Linked DNA regions of Homo sapiens: regions 1, 2 and 4 are each linked to region 3. The links are contacts of gene promoters, found by promoter capture Hi-C in blood cells and fetal thymus (Javierre and others, 2016). All regions are on one chromosome and are shown on one strand. Each heading gives the region's core, a stretch centred on a gene start or on the middle of the fragment in contact. The rest is flanking DNA. Distances are from core to core; before and after follow the strand shown.

The links. The method cuts DNA at HindIII sites, captures the fragments that hold promoters and counts their contacts. A CHiCAGO score of 5 or more calls a contact.
Region 1: a fragment that was not itself captured here is called in contact with the fragment with the promoter of ZNF222 in region 3 in 2 of 17 cell types (non-activated CD4 T cells and total CD4 T cells); the score reaches 6.2 in non-activated CD4 T cells.
Region 2: a contact is called between a fragment that was not itself captured here and the fragment with the promoter of ZNF222 in region 3, in 3 of 17 cell types (non-activated CD4 T cells, fetal thymus and naive CD4 T cells). The highest score is 5.5, in non-activated CD4 T cells.
Region 4: a fragment that was not itself captured here is called in contact with the fragment with the promoter of ZNF222 in region 3 in 1 of 17 cell types (non-activated CD4 T cells); the score reaches 5.9 in non-activated CD4 T cells.

Annotation. Positions count from the first base shown.
Region 1 is chr19:43,841,624-43,845,144 of GRCh38, reverse strand. All of the region lies in intron 6 of ZNF283 (zinc finger protein 283), which reads right to left. Among named protein-coding and RNA genes, the nearest start is that of ZNF283, 16 kb to the right of the region's middle. The HindIII fragment of the contact is 4,496 bases long and covers 1-3,521 here.
Region 2 is chr19:44,174,208-44,177,504 of GRCh38, reverse strand. ZNF226 (zinc finger protein 226) reads right to left here. Exons shown (of 6, transcript NM_001032373.2): 6 at 1-2,007. Among named protein-coding and RNA genes, the nearest start is that of ZNF226, 11 kb to the right of the region's middle. The HindIII fragment of the contact is 8,400 bases long and covers 1-3,297 here.
Region 3 is chr19:44,023,958-44,027,564 of GRCh38, reverse strand. ZNF222 (zinc finger protein 222) reads right to left here and starts at 2,186. Exons shown (of 4, transcript NM_001129996.2): 1 at 2,087-2,186; 2 at 416-542; 3 at 75-167. The coding sequence starts at 2,128. ZNF222-DT (ZNF222 divergent transcript) reads left to right here and starts at 2,283. Exons shown (of 3, transcript NR_184028.1): 1 at 2,283-2,450; 2 at 2,546-2,667. RefSeq lists enhancers at 1,891-1,940, 2,171-2,220. The HindIII fragment of the contact is 1,542 bases long and covers 830-2,371 here.
Region 4 is chr19:44,246,219-44,249,794 of GRCh38, reverse strand. No RefSeq gene overlaps it. Among named protein-coding and RNA genes, the nearest start is that of ZNF233, 12 kb to the left of the region's middle. The HindIII fragment of the contact is 3,299 bases long and covers 161-3,459 here.

The sequences.
Region 1 (3,521 bases), core at 265-2,764, 180 kb after region 3:
CTAATAAGTTACTTGTTATTAAAAGGTACCTGTCCCAGCAATAATGTACTTGTCAAGTTGGAGAAGATGTATATTCATATTCATGTACCCACAGGTTATGACTTTCTATAAATTAATTTTAAGAAAGATTGTGTACCTAGGTTTAAATACCCTTGTCAATTTGGAACAATCGTAATACTCTTTCATTGTCCATAATGTGTTTTGACTTCAAGGTAGTCACTTACTTTATCCTTATAAATTAATTAGGTTTTATACCTCAATAGAGGATTTAATTTTTTTCCATTATGAAGTTGTTGTTTATTATATTAAATTAACCAGAGCCATTGAGCCTTAACAACTACAAGAAGGTTTTTCCAAACTCAAATCTACTGACATTTGGGCCCAAATCATTCTTGGTTGTGCGGGGTTTTCATGTGCCTTGCCTGTTGATGACTGTATAACATTTTGGTTGAGCTATTAAATGATGGATGATTATTGTGATGTGAATGTGGGAAGTAAGTTTAATCATATATAGTTGGTCACAGGTCTAAACTGCACTATTGCTGTTTCATTTAACAATGTCTTGCTGCTTTTTATGCATTAACATTTGGGTGTAAAGATTCTGTGGATAACCAAAACAAAGCCACAGTATTTAAGCTGACCAACCTAATATTCCAACTGAATATGGAGGTGACCAATTATGAACTAAAAGGAGTACAGTTTTGTACAACATAGCATCAGTAGTTTAGCGAATTTTAATTTCTATGTAAGGCTTAGATTTTAATTTAACATTATAGATTTAGATTTAACATTTTAGTTACTTACTACTTATGTTTTATGTAAGGTTTTACAGTGTCAGTAAATAAATATGGGTTTAACTTCTTAAATGTCAAGAAAAATCATTGAGGACCCAAAAGACTTTTAGTTTATGTAGTTATATATTTTGATATTTGTCATGTTAAAAATTTAAACAGAGAAATTTTAAGATATTTACTAATTCACTTAAAATAACAATAAACCATTAACTGTTAACATAAATGATTTGTTATAAAAATAATCTTTTCTAAAACAAAACAAAAGATGTTTTAAATTTTTTCAAATCTTTTAAATGGATGGTTTAATAAAAGACACCTGGATTCTCATATCTGCTTCTGCATTCAATCTATGGCAATATGTTATTTAGGTTGAAATATATGAAGAAAATCATATATATGAAGTATATGAAGAAAATCTAGCCTCTCATGGTACATAGTTGGAAAATGGCAGAATATTTTACTAGTCCATGCAGATAACTGTGGATATTTTTCTTTGACACCACCCTAAAACTTAAGAAATGGTAGTGTCTGGCAGGTTAAGTACAATGTGGAATATAAAATCATATCTGTGAACTTTTCATACTATGTTACATTGCACTTTGAATAATCTTTTATCCATGTGTAATTTTGTAACATCATACACTGGTCATTTGGAAAATACTGATTCAAAGAGTTATGCAGATCTTTGAAATGTTGACGTAGTTCACTATACAACATCAAAAAATCACATGTTAATATTACCACCCATCTCATAAAAAATCTTAATGTATTAGGAAGCTATAAAGCTCAAAATTATGAATAAACATTTTACAAAATTCTAATTTTAACATGACAGATTGAATTATATCATTGGCAACAAATATTAGTTATTTTTGAAGTGACAGGCTCACTTGCAAGAAAATGTTTTCCTACTGCCCAAGTCTGAACAAACAAAGTTTTTCATTCTTTGGTGAAAAATATGGTGTTTTGTCAAAAAAGCAGTTGGTTTAACTCACAATTTTTTTGGGGGTGGGGACGTAGTCTCACTTTGTCACCAGGCTGGAATGCAGTGGCACGATCTTGGCTCACTGCAACCTCCGCCTCTCGGGTTCAAGCGATTCTCCTGCCTCAGCCTCCCGAGTAGCTGGGACTACAGGCGCGTGCCACCATGCTCAGCTAATTTTTGTATTTTTAGTAGAGATGGGGTTTCACCATGTTGGCCAGGATGGTCTCGATCTCTTAACCTTGTGATCTGTCCGCCTTGGCCTCCCAAAATGCTGGGATTACGGGCATCAGCCACAGAGCCTGGCCTTTAACTCACAACTTAAACAACTGTACAAGTGGTTTTCTTCAAGGCAACCATCATACTTTGGTATACAGCAGAAGACCTTAATGGATACTTCCCATTTCATTACATAGAATATTTTTTAAATGTATATATAATCAAGGGTTGAGATTTAATAAAATGAATACTGCTTCTTCAAGATGTTCTTAAGTGAAAATGGGTTTTTTCTTAACACATTTTCTTTGTGTGTGGAGGTAAAGAATATGATGATTACTAGTACTATTTGGTGCCTCTGCCTTTGCTCATGCTAAAGCAGAGAAGATTCACCATGGCTTCTACACCACCAGTGGAAGTGTCACCACAGTGAAAAAGGCAAACCTCTCAGTATTGTTATGAGAATATTTTTCACTTTGTGAAAGGTTTGGCCCACTGAAAGGTTCTTGGGAACTCCCAGGGGTCTTCAGTCCACAGTTTGAGAACCACTGCCCTACCTAGAGTAAGAATTATGTCCAGGACTAAGGATAAAACCAAACTGTACCTGCCTTCAAAAATCAACTCTTAAAAAGATCATTGTGATCTGCTATTAATTTAACTGCTTGCCTGAACAGTTTAACTATTAGGAAGATAATAAAATCCCCAAGTCACTACAACATGGCATCTACAATGGCCAGTATACAATGAGAAATTGTAAGACCGGTAAAGAAGCAGGAAAATTTGACACAAGATTTAGAGAAAATACAGTCAATAAAAGCAGACCCACAAAACCAAATGTAAATTCTATAACTATAAAATGTAGGTGGAATGAAATCTTTATTGGATAGGCTTAACAATAATTGGACACTATCAAAGAAAAAAAAAACAGTGACTTCAAGACAGGTAAATAGGTATTACCAAACTGAAGTACAAAGAGTAAAAAGACTGGGGGTTGCACCTCCGTGACTGGTGGCACCATATAAGTGGTCTAACACACATATAATTGGAGTCTTAGGAGGAGGAAAAGTACTAAAGAAGCAGAAAAAAGTATTTGAAGATACAATGGTTGAAATTTCTCCAAATTCAATAAAAAAATCAACCCACTGATCAAAGGTAAGGGAAAGTGAAGCATGATAAATGTAAAGGAACCATATCTAGAACTTTATAGTCAGATTATTACAGACCAAAAATAAAGAAAAAACTTAATAACAGAGAATAAAGTATATATAAAATGAACAATAAGAATCATAGCTGTCTAATCATTATATACAATAGAGTTCAGAAGATAATGGAACATTTTTGAAGCTAACTAAAAGAAAAAATATATCAGTTGGGAAATTCATATCTGGTAAAAATATCCTTCAAAAATAAGAAAGATGAAGGCTGGGTGCAGTGGCTCATGCCTGTAATCCCAGCACTTTGGGAGGCCAAGGCAGGTGGATCACCTGAGGTCAGGAAATCAAAACCAGCCTGGCCAACACAGTGAAACC
Region 2 (3,297 bases), core at 148-2,647, 150 kb before region 3:
CTCGCTGATGAGACTGTAGTTGTGAAGACCGACTGAAGACTTTACCACACACATCACATTTGTATGGTTTCTCTCCTGTGTGGACACTCTGATGAAGTTGAAGACTTGAGGCCTGACTGAAGTACTTACCACACTCCCCACATTTATATGGTTTTTCTCCTGTGTGCACCCTCTGATGCATGTCAAGGTTCAAGCTCCACTTGAAGCCCTTCCCACACTCATCACATTTGTATGGCTTATCTCCAGTGTGGACTTTTTGATGGGCTTGAAGATGTGCACTCCGACCGAAACTCTTCCCACATTCTTCACATTTGAATGGTTTTTCTCCACTGTGGACTCTCTGATGGGCCAAAAGATTTGAGGCCTGCCTGAAGACCTTCCCACACTCCTCACAATTATATGGTTTCTCTCCTGTGTGGATCCTACAGTGAATTTTAAGATCTGCTCTACGACTAAATCCCTTGCCACACTCTTCACATTTGTATGGTTTCTCACCCGTATGGATCAGCTGGTGAATCTGAAGTCGTGAGCTCTGATTGAAACCCTGCCCACACTCCTCACACTTAAAAGGTTTCTCTATACTGTGGGCCTTCTGATGGATTTGAAGATACGAACTTTGACTGAAGCCCTTCCCACATATCTCACATTTATAGGGTTTCTCTCCTGTGTGGACCACTAGATGAACTTGATAATGGGAATTCCTCCTGAAGCTCTTCCCACACTCATTGCATTTGTATGGCTTCTCTCCAGTGTGGACTCTCTGATGGGCTTGAAGATTTGAACTCAGAGTAAAGCCTTTCCCACATACAGTACATATGTATGACTTCTCTCCAGTGTGAACTCCCTGATGGGCCTGAAGACTTGAAGGCCGACTAAAGCCTTTACCACATTCCTCACATTTATAGGGTTTTTCTCCTGTGTGGACTCTCTGATGAATGTAAAGATTTGAGCTACAAATGAAGCCCTTACCACACTCCTCACATTTGTATGGTTTCTCTCCTGTATGAACTCTTTGATGGGATTGAAGATGTGAATTCCGACTGAAGCTCTTACCACATGCATCACATTTGAATGGCTTCTCCCCAGTGTGGAGTCTCTGATGGTCCTGAAGATGAGAGGCCTGACTGAAGGCCCTCCCACACTCCTCACAATTATAAGGTTTCTCTGCCGTGTGGACCTTGCAATGAACATTAAGTGCTGATCTACGACTGAAACCTTTCCCACATTGCTTACATTTGTATGGTTTCTCTATCACGTGGACTTTCTGATGGGTCTGTAGATGAGCGCCCTGACTGAATTCCTTACCACACTCATCACACTTAAGTTTTTCTCCCACATGTACTTTCTGATGAACAGGAAGAACTGGGCTGTAACAGAAGCCTTTTCCACGCTCAACACATGTAAGAGACTTCTCTCCTGATTGTAACTGCTGATGAAGATCAAAGCTGGAGAGATCACTGAAGGGTTTTTTACACTCATTACACTGGTACGATTTCTGTCCTGTGTGAATCATGCTATTGTGATCAAATGTCAAAATCTTCATGTTGTCTTTTTCATAATCATTGGGTCTATAAGATTTTTCACTTTTGTGTACTCTATGACCATCATGATGTGAAATCCAACCGATGGGATCAACACCCTTCTTACATTGACATAATTTATTTTTTATGGAAATTTGCTGATCTCTGTTCAATCTCTGTGACTCAGTCAGGAATGTTTTCCTCCAAGAATCCTGGGTTCTCAAGATAGGAAACTCTGGATTCCCAGTATTATTGGGACCATCTGCTTTATTTACTATATAGTTCTCATCTTCAGAAATTTGAATAGACAGTTCTGTCCCTACCTGGTAAGGGAAATCACCTTGTTTGTGACACTGAGAATTATTGATCATGGAGTCTTGACACCTGGTTAAGTCATTTGCAATTTGTTGCCAGATTTGCCAACAAGAAAGCTCTTCTTCTGATTCTCTGTCTTGAACAGTAATTAACTTACTTTGATTTTTCTCTCCTGTAAGGACAAAGGATTCAGAGAGATAGTGAATTTTTTTGTTCAAAGATTTAAGATTTCACACTGAGGACAGAGTAAAAGACTTTAATGAACCTCGGGATAGTTCTGCTCATCTTTTGTGACACATTTGAAGTTTCTGGTTTACATACTGACAGAAACCAAGAGATGGTCCAAAACCAAGAGATGGTCCACCAAGCTCCCAATTGCTAAGCACTAATGAAACCCATTTAAAAACACAACTACTGACATACTATCTAAATTTTTTATTCCATGTCTTTCCTACCATAATATGGTATCAATAAGGAAAAACATTTTGTAGTGCTCACAGTTTACAACCACAGCCCAGAAGTTACTGCCCGGCAGTCATTCATAGTCACTCAAGGAATGTATGCATATATGAGTCCTTCCAACATTTCTTCATATATAAATGACTTCCAACATTTCTTCTAACTTCAAATCCAAGTTTAAGTTTGAGCCAGGTCATAGAGCAAAAGAGCTTTTACAAGTAAGGTATCTGAAATACAAAAAGAACTAGAAAGTACAGTTTTGCTGCAAAGTTGAAAAGCTGTACCTGAGGTAGGGGTACACCAAGTGAGTTATTGCTGAAGAGAAAAATCAAAGTTGATAATCACTTGGGGTGAAAGGAAAGCATGAAGACCTATGCACTGGATCCTTCTAAGGCTTTTGCACTGAGTCAAAATTGGAAGGCTAGCAAAGAATGCTGTCTCTTTGAAAGCAAGGTATAGAAAGTTTCTGGATGTAGATATGTTTGTCTTTAACAAGAATGTTTTCCAAATTGACAAAGTGGTCTACTAGTCAATTGTGAAATAAATTTAATAGCTTGTGATATTTAGGAAAAAAAAACAGATAAAGTATCATATCAGAATAATCACAAGCAGTAATGGTGTCATTACATAAAAGGCCTTCTAAAGACATACATATAAGCCTACACGATATAAATGTTTGAGAGGCAACAATGTAAGATCCATTTCTTTTTATGAATGTGGACTTTGGAAGAAGCAAATGGGATGCAACTGTGCAAACATTTTGAGGGAAAGGCTAATGCTCATGTCCTGGTTTTTAGTTTTACTTTTTCTTTCCTGATATAATGGATAAGGAAATCGAATTTTATTCCCTTCTATGGGGGAATACCTAAGAAATAGAAATAAAAGTCCTTATTGTAAAATATTCCCTCCCCGAATGAATATGCTCTGCTACAAATGCTCAAAGAAAGTCATAAACAAAGCATGTTATTCAGTTTGGTTACAACTATGACACTATAGGTTCCCC
Region 3 (3,607 bases), core at 937-3,436:
CAAAATGCTGGAAATGGGCATGGACAGAAGTAACAGGAATCACATGCAGGGACACACAATTGCTTGGTTCTTACCCAAATTCCCTTCTCTTTGGCTTGTTGTCCCCATCACCCAAAACTTTTCTTCCCTTAGGAAGTGGAAAGTATCTCCATGGAATGGTTGATGCCCTGTGAACAGGCAAAGTCACATGCTTAATCCCAACATGTTCAAGGTAATATCATGTTGGTGCAAACGTAATTGCAGTGTACCATTACTTCCAATGACAAAAACCACAATTACTTTTGCACCAACCTAATAGCCAGGCAAAATTTACTGGAAATGTAGGTTCTCACTGCACACTCAAACTTGAAAACCCTAGGATTAAAAAACCACTCCTGGGGCCTGACATTCCATTACAGGGGGTGCCCGTCCTCACCCACTGAGAGCAGGTTCCTGAAGTTCTCAAGCATCACATCTCGGTACAGCTTCCTCTGGGCAGGGTCCAGCAGCCCCAGCTCCTCCTCAGTGAAGATCACAGCCACATCCTTGAAGGTCACTGCCTCCTACAACATCAAGCAGATGTCACCTCAATCTTACGGCCAAAGACTATTGGGAGACAGCAGCATTGCACTGGCACAAGGGACAAGTGTAAAGTTGTTTTGGATCTTGAGAGACATAGGTCAGCTTATAGATTTCCTACTTATTCTGTTTGTGTCCTGACAATGACTGATTAGGCAATAGGGGTTTGGAATGGAGACTGCACACACCAGTCAACAGGGTGTGTCCTGAATAAATAGTGGGTAAAGGACATTTACTGAGATGCTATCTCTAACTCCACTTCAGGAAAGCTTGCTGCAGAGTTAGAGTGATATAGTCCAAATGCTCTGTTTGAGTCGCGGGCCCTTTGACGAAAATGAGACTGAGGCAGGAGAATCACTTGAACCCGAGAGGCGGAGGTTACAGTGAGCCAAGATTGCACCACTGCACTCCAGCCTAAGCAACAAGAGCGAAACTCTGTAAAAAAAAAAATATATATATATATAGAGAGAGAGAGAGAAAGAAAATAGTAGATAAGGTTAAAAAAATTAAAAAGCAAAAAGCAAACAAACAAAAACTCCTATAGAAGTCCAAGCCCCTGAGCCTTGCCTCAAGGTGCCTTCAATCAAGTCCTAACTTACGTTCTCCACCTGTTCCCAGCTAGTACCTCTGCCTCAATGAGAATTGCATTCAAGAGATGATCAACTCAGGCTCTAACCTGGACTGCCTAGGTTTCAACTCCTGCTCCACCTGTGTCTCACGCCCATCTTTAAAATGAAAAAAGCAGCACCTCTCCACAGTGCCACTGTGAAGATCATGTATTTTGGGGTATAAAGTACTTGGAATAAAGTTACCAATTAAGGCTTAATCATTATCGACACCCATGCCCGAGGGACAAATCCTACACACTCTCGGTTGAGGTAAGCATCTCTGTCAAAGAAAAAAAGCCAAGGATCACTCACGTAGAGCTTTGCCATCAGTAGCCAAGAAGTCCCTTCCTGCAGCTCTTTTAGAAAGGTCGGGCTGGGGAAAAAGAAAGCTGTGAAACACCCTGACCGTTTTGCCGTCCCCCATAAAAGTTAAATGCTCCCCTCACTTTCCTAAAAAGAGGTCAGAAGGCGTCAGGGATCATCCAGCGTCCTGCAGGGATCAGGCAGAAGGGCCGGCGCCCCTGCAGCTGGAGCTCTGACCCCACCAGAGGACCTGACAGGCTTCGTGGGAAATTAACAAGAGACCACCAGACACCGAGTGACAGGGACTGCTTTTAAGGCTCTCATTTGTGTTACCTCTTTCAGGTCCCAAAATGAATCCATTAGGATGGTCCGAAAAGTCCCGTTACAAAACAAACAAACAAACGAACCAGCAATGGAAGATAAACGGACATTAAGTGACACTCCACACCACACTGAAAGGGGCTGCACACGTAGGGAGGAGGGAGGCGGACTAAGCGAGGTCAAAGTAGGGCACACCGGGCCGCGCCAATCCCACTCCCTGAGACCCTAGCAGAGCCCCCCGACGCCAGAAGGCTCAGCTGACTGGAACGGCAATCCCCGCCCGCGCCCCTCCAAACCTCTGCTCTCCGCCCAGGCTTCTTTTCTCCTGAATCGATCATTGGGTGGTTGCGAGCCCCAAGGAAAGGAGACTCGTTCGGAAGGACTCGCAAGATGTGGAAATGACTCAAACTACTGTGGTAAATGAAATAGCAACGTCACAGTTGGGGACCGGAAGTGCTCGAGCCTCCACAGAGCGTGTGGACTCCACTTCCCAGAATTCCCCGGACTCGCCCGTGTGAGACAAAGGGCCCGCGACTCAAACAGAGCATTTGGACTATATCACTCTAACTCTGCAGCAAGCTTTCCTGAAGTGGAGTTGGAGATAGCATTTCAGTAAATGTCCTTTACCCACTGCTTATTCGGGACACACCCTGTTGACTGGTGCGTGCAGTCTCCATTCCAAACCACTATTGCCATTCCTATCGCTTCCATAAAGCCTAAGAAATCAAATATTTTCTTTCTCTGCCTTCATCTAGCTAGAAATTTTCATGGGACACAATTTTGGGAAGTGAGACATTAGGAGAAGTGAGCTGTCCTCTCCTGACAAGAAATGTGCTTGGCAGGCTGTGAGTACACGAGGAGTTGAAAGAGTAAAAAGGTGATCGTCTCAGTGGACTGTAGGTATTGGCGAGGTTCTAATATTACTGATGCTAGCATGCTGGTGGGACCAAGGTGGAAATACAAGTCAAAGTTGTTGGAGAGTAGTGCTGCAAATTATTATGGAGGAATATTTGCTAGAAAATGACGAGGTCTAAAATATGACCATGGGAGAGAGTGTCCCTTGATATTTCACATGAATCTCAGGTGGATTTTTTCATTTCTGAGAAAAATGTTACTGTGATTAAGGATTGCATTGAATCTATAGATATAGGTATTGACAGCCTTGCAATATCAAGTCGCCCAATCCATTAATAATGGATATATCTCCATTTATTTGCGCCTTCTTTAATTTTTTTTTTTTTTTTTTTGAGACAGAGTCTCACTCTGTCGCCCAAGCTGGAGTGCAGTGGCACAATCTTGGCTCACTGCAACCTCCGCCTCCTGAGTTCAAGCGATTCTCCTGCCTCAGCCTCCCAAGTAGCTGGGATTACAGGCACGTACCACCATACCTGGCCAATTTTTGTATTTTTAGTGAAGACAGGGGTTTCACCAGGTTGGCCAGGCTGATCTCGAACTCCTGGCCTCAAGTTATTCGCCTGCCTGGGCCTCACAAAGTGCTGGGATTACAGGCATAAGCCACCATGCCTGGGGTGCCTTCTTTAATTTTCTTTAGTAAGATGTTGCAAAATTCAGTGTCCAAGTGTTTCTTGTCATTGGTTAAGACAGTTCCTAAGTAATTTATTTATTTAATGCTATTGCAAAGGGAACTATTTTCCTTTTCAGATTAATTGTTTTTGTATAGAAATACAACTGCTTCTTCTATGTAGATATTTTTCCTGCAACTTTCTGACTTTACTAGCTCTAAGAGTTTTTTTTTCTTGTGAATTCTTTAGAATTTTTATATATAAGAACATGTCATTAGCATATAGACAATTTTA
Region 4 (3,576 bases), core at 561-3,060, 220 kb before region 3:
AGTCCACAATATGAACTGCAAGGTAGTTCTAATTATGGGATTCAGGAAAAAGAAACTATATTTTCACTGTTCTCATTGTGAAGCCTGGAGTTAGTTAATGATAGAAATAGGCTTTTAAGAACTTTTATTCTGGATGAAAGCAGGACTAGGGAAACAAGCTTTGCAGAAAAATAGTAAGATTGGAATGAGGCAAGAGAAAACCCATTGACAACAAAAAATAAAAAAGCATTCCAATCTCTCAGGGATGAAAATACCATCCTGAGCAGCAGCCAGTAACATATATGGGGTCTGTGGACTGGGTCTTTGTTAGGTTTTAAAACTGCGTTGTTAAACGTGTGTTTAATTTTTCTTTTCCAGTGGTGAGTTAAAACACAATGGCCAGTTAACAATACTCTTCCCATGGAGTGAGGCTGTAGGGAAATGTAATACTTTCTAAAATTGTGTAAATATGAAGATATGGATGTGTAACTGTCTATATGTATTATAAATGAGAGAATACTGAGACTCTAATCAAATAATTAAACTAGGCAAAGGAAAAAATAAGGCCCATTAATGCATTTGGGGAAATTTGCTTTAAATTTTTTTCTATACTAGGTAATATATTTACATGGTACAAAATTAAAATAATATAAACAATATACCTTGAAAACTCATCCCATTCTGACCCAAGGTTGTTTGCCTATACCAAAAGCCCATGTACCACATGTAATCTTTGTGTTTTTTTTTTGTTGGTTTGTTTTTTTTTGAGATGGAGTCTTGCTCTGTCACCCACGCTGGAGTGCAATGGCACAATCCTGGCTCATTGCAACCTCTGCCTCTTGGGTTCAAGCGATTCTCCTGCCTCAGCCTCCCAAGTAGCTGGGATTACATATGTGTACCGCCACGCCTGGCTGATTTTTGTATTTTTAGTAGAGATGGAGTTTCACCATGTTGCCCAGGCTGGTCTCGAACTCCTGACCTCAAGTGATCTGTCTGCCTCGTCCTCTCAAAGTGTTGGGATTACAAGCATAAGTCATCACGCCCGACCAGTGTTAGTTTTTCGTGTATACTTTCAGTGGGTCTTTGTGCACATGAAAAATTCAAGAAGTATATGCAAATGAGCTTTTTCTAATGTACTAAAATATACACCCTTCCATCCTTTGGTTTATTACATGAAGAATGTAGTAAGAAACAAGAGTTTCTAGGTGAATGAATATATTTCTGTGGATTTTCAATGGTAGTATCTGTATTTTTAAAATAAAAATAAAAACAATCACACCTAGACACATCATATTGAAACTGCAGTAAATTCAAAATAAAGAGAAAATTTTGAAGGCGGCCAAAGGCAGGGGATGGGTGAGGAGACACAATACATACAAAGAATCAAAGATGAGAATTACAGGACATGTCTCATTAGAAACTATGCAAACCAGAATACAAAGAGTATAGAAAGAAAAAAACAACAACACATAATTCCATACCCAGCAAATACATCCCTCGAAAATGAAGATATAATGAAAACTTTTTAAGACAAAAACTGAAAAAATTCAGTAGCAGCCAACCAGCAGTACAAGAAACATTAAAGAAAGTTCTTCAAACAGAAAGGATGCTATATAAAATTTGGTAAACTTGCAAAGTAATGACGATTTCCAGAAGCAGTTAAGAATTTAACTTTTAATTGCTCTGAAAGACACTTGACTCCTAAAGCAAAAATAATAGCAATGTACTGTGGCTTTATAGCATATGCCAACGACAAATGCTTGACAATTGGACAAAAGTTTGAAGGAAGGAATTGGGAGTGTACAGTTGTATAAGTAAAGAGTATATATTCAAAATCTCATTAACCAAACACCACCTGTTTCCCAAAAACCTAGTGAAATAAAATAAATAAAATAGTATATATTATTTAAAGAGAGGCTGTCATTAACTATAGATGAATATTGTAAATTCTACAGTAAACGCTAAAACAATAATGAAAAGAGGTACAGGTTGAGTACCCCAACCTGAACATCCAAATGCTGTAAAATCTGAATTTTTTTGAGTGCTTACATGACAACTCAAAGGAAATGCTGATGGGAGTGTTTTGGATTTCAGATGTTCAGACTGCAAATACTCAACTGATAACTACAATACAAATATTCCACAATCTGAAAAAATCCGAAATCTGAACACTCCTAATCCCAAACATTTTGGGTAAGGGATATTCAGCCTGTAAAAATAAGCTAATTGTGGATACGATATGAAATCATATTTAAAAATTAGCAAAAAATGTGTAACAAAAGGAAAAGAAACAAAGAAGGTAACCAAAAATAGATTTATATCTGACCATATCAATTACTAAATGATATATAAATGACATAAACATACCAATTATAACAAATCATCAGATTGGAGAATAAAGCAACAATAATCAAATTAAAGCTGGAGTGGCTATACTACTATTAGGCAAACACTAATAAAAGGCTACAGTGGGCCGGGCGCGGTGGCTCAAGCCTGTAATCCCAGCACTTTGGGAGGCCAAGGCAGGCGGATCACGAGGTTAAGAGATTGAGACCATCCTAGCTAACATGGTGAAACCCCATCTCTACTAAAAATAGAAAAAAATTAGCTGGGCATGGTGGCGGGCGCCTGTAGTCCCAGCTACTTGGGAGGCTGAGGCAGGAGAATGGCATGAACCTGGGAGGCAGAGCTTGCAGTGAACCGAGATCGTGCCATTGCACTCCAGCCTGGGCGACAGAGCAAGACTCCCTCTCAAAAAAAAAAAAAAAAAAAAAAAAAAAAAAAAAAAAAAAGGCTATAGTGGTGATATTAAAAGCAAACAAAGTAGGCATCAAAACAAGGATTATTACCAGAAATAAGAGGGACATTAAATAATAATAAAGAGGTAATTTCACCAAAAAGACATAAAATTAAATGTGTATGCACAAAACAACAGAGCTTCAAAATATACAAAGCCAAAACTGATAAAGACAAAGACTAAACAACCCACAATTAACAGCTGGAGACTTCATTCTCATTAATCAATAAAACAAATAGAAAACCAGTAAGTCATGATGAACTCTTGCCGTGATGGAAAAAAGAAAAGAAAACCAGTAAGGATATAGAAGACCTCAACAACATTATTAATCAACATCATTAAAACATACACCAAGATGGATCATACTCTGGGCCATGTAATTCACTGCACCAATTTAAAAGAATTGAAACCACACAAAGTATATTCTCATATCACAACAAAATTAAATGAGAATCAATAACAAAACAATCTCAGGAAAATCCCCCACTACCCTTAGAAATTAAATAACCCATGGGTCAAAAAAAACCCCATGAGTTAGAAGAGAAAAGGGAAAATAAGAAATAAAAATAAAAAGATAACATATCAGAACTTGTAGAATGCCACTAAGGCAGCATTTAGAGAAAAATTTAGAGCATGAAATGCTTATATTGGAAGAAAAGGAACTTACATCAATTATCTAAGCTTTTTTAAGCTTAATAAACTTTAAAAAAAAAAGCTGGGTGCAATGGTTCACACCTGTAATCCCAGGATTTGGGGGAGGCCAAGGCAGGAGAACTGCTTGAGCCCAGGAGTTTGAGACT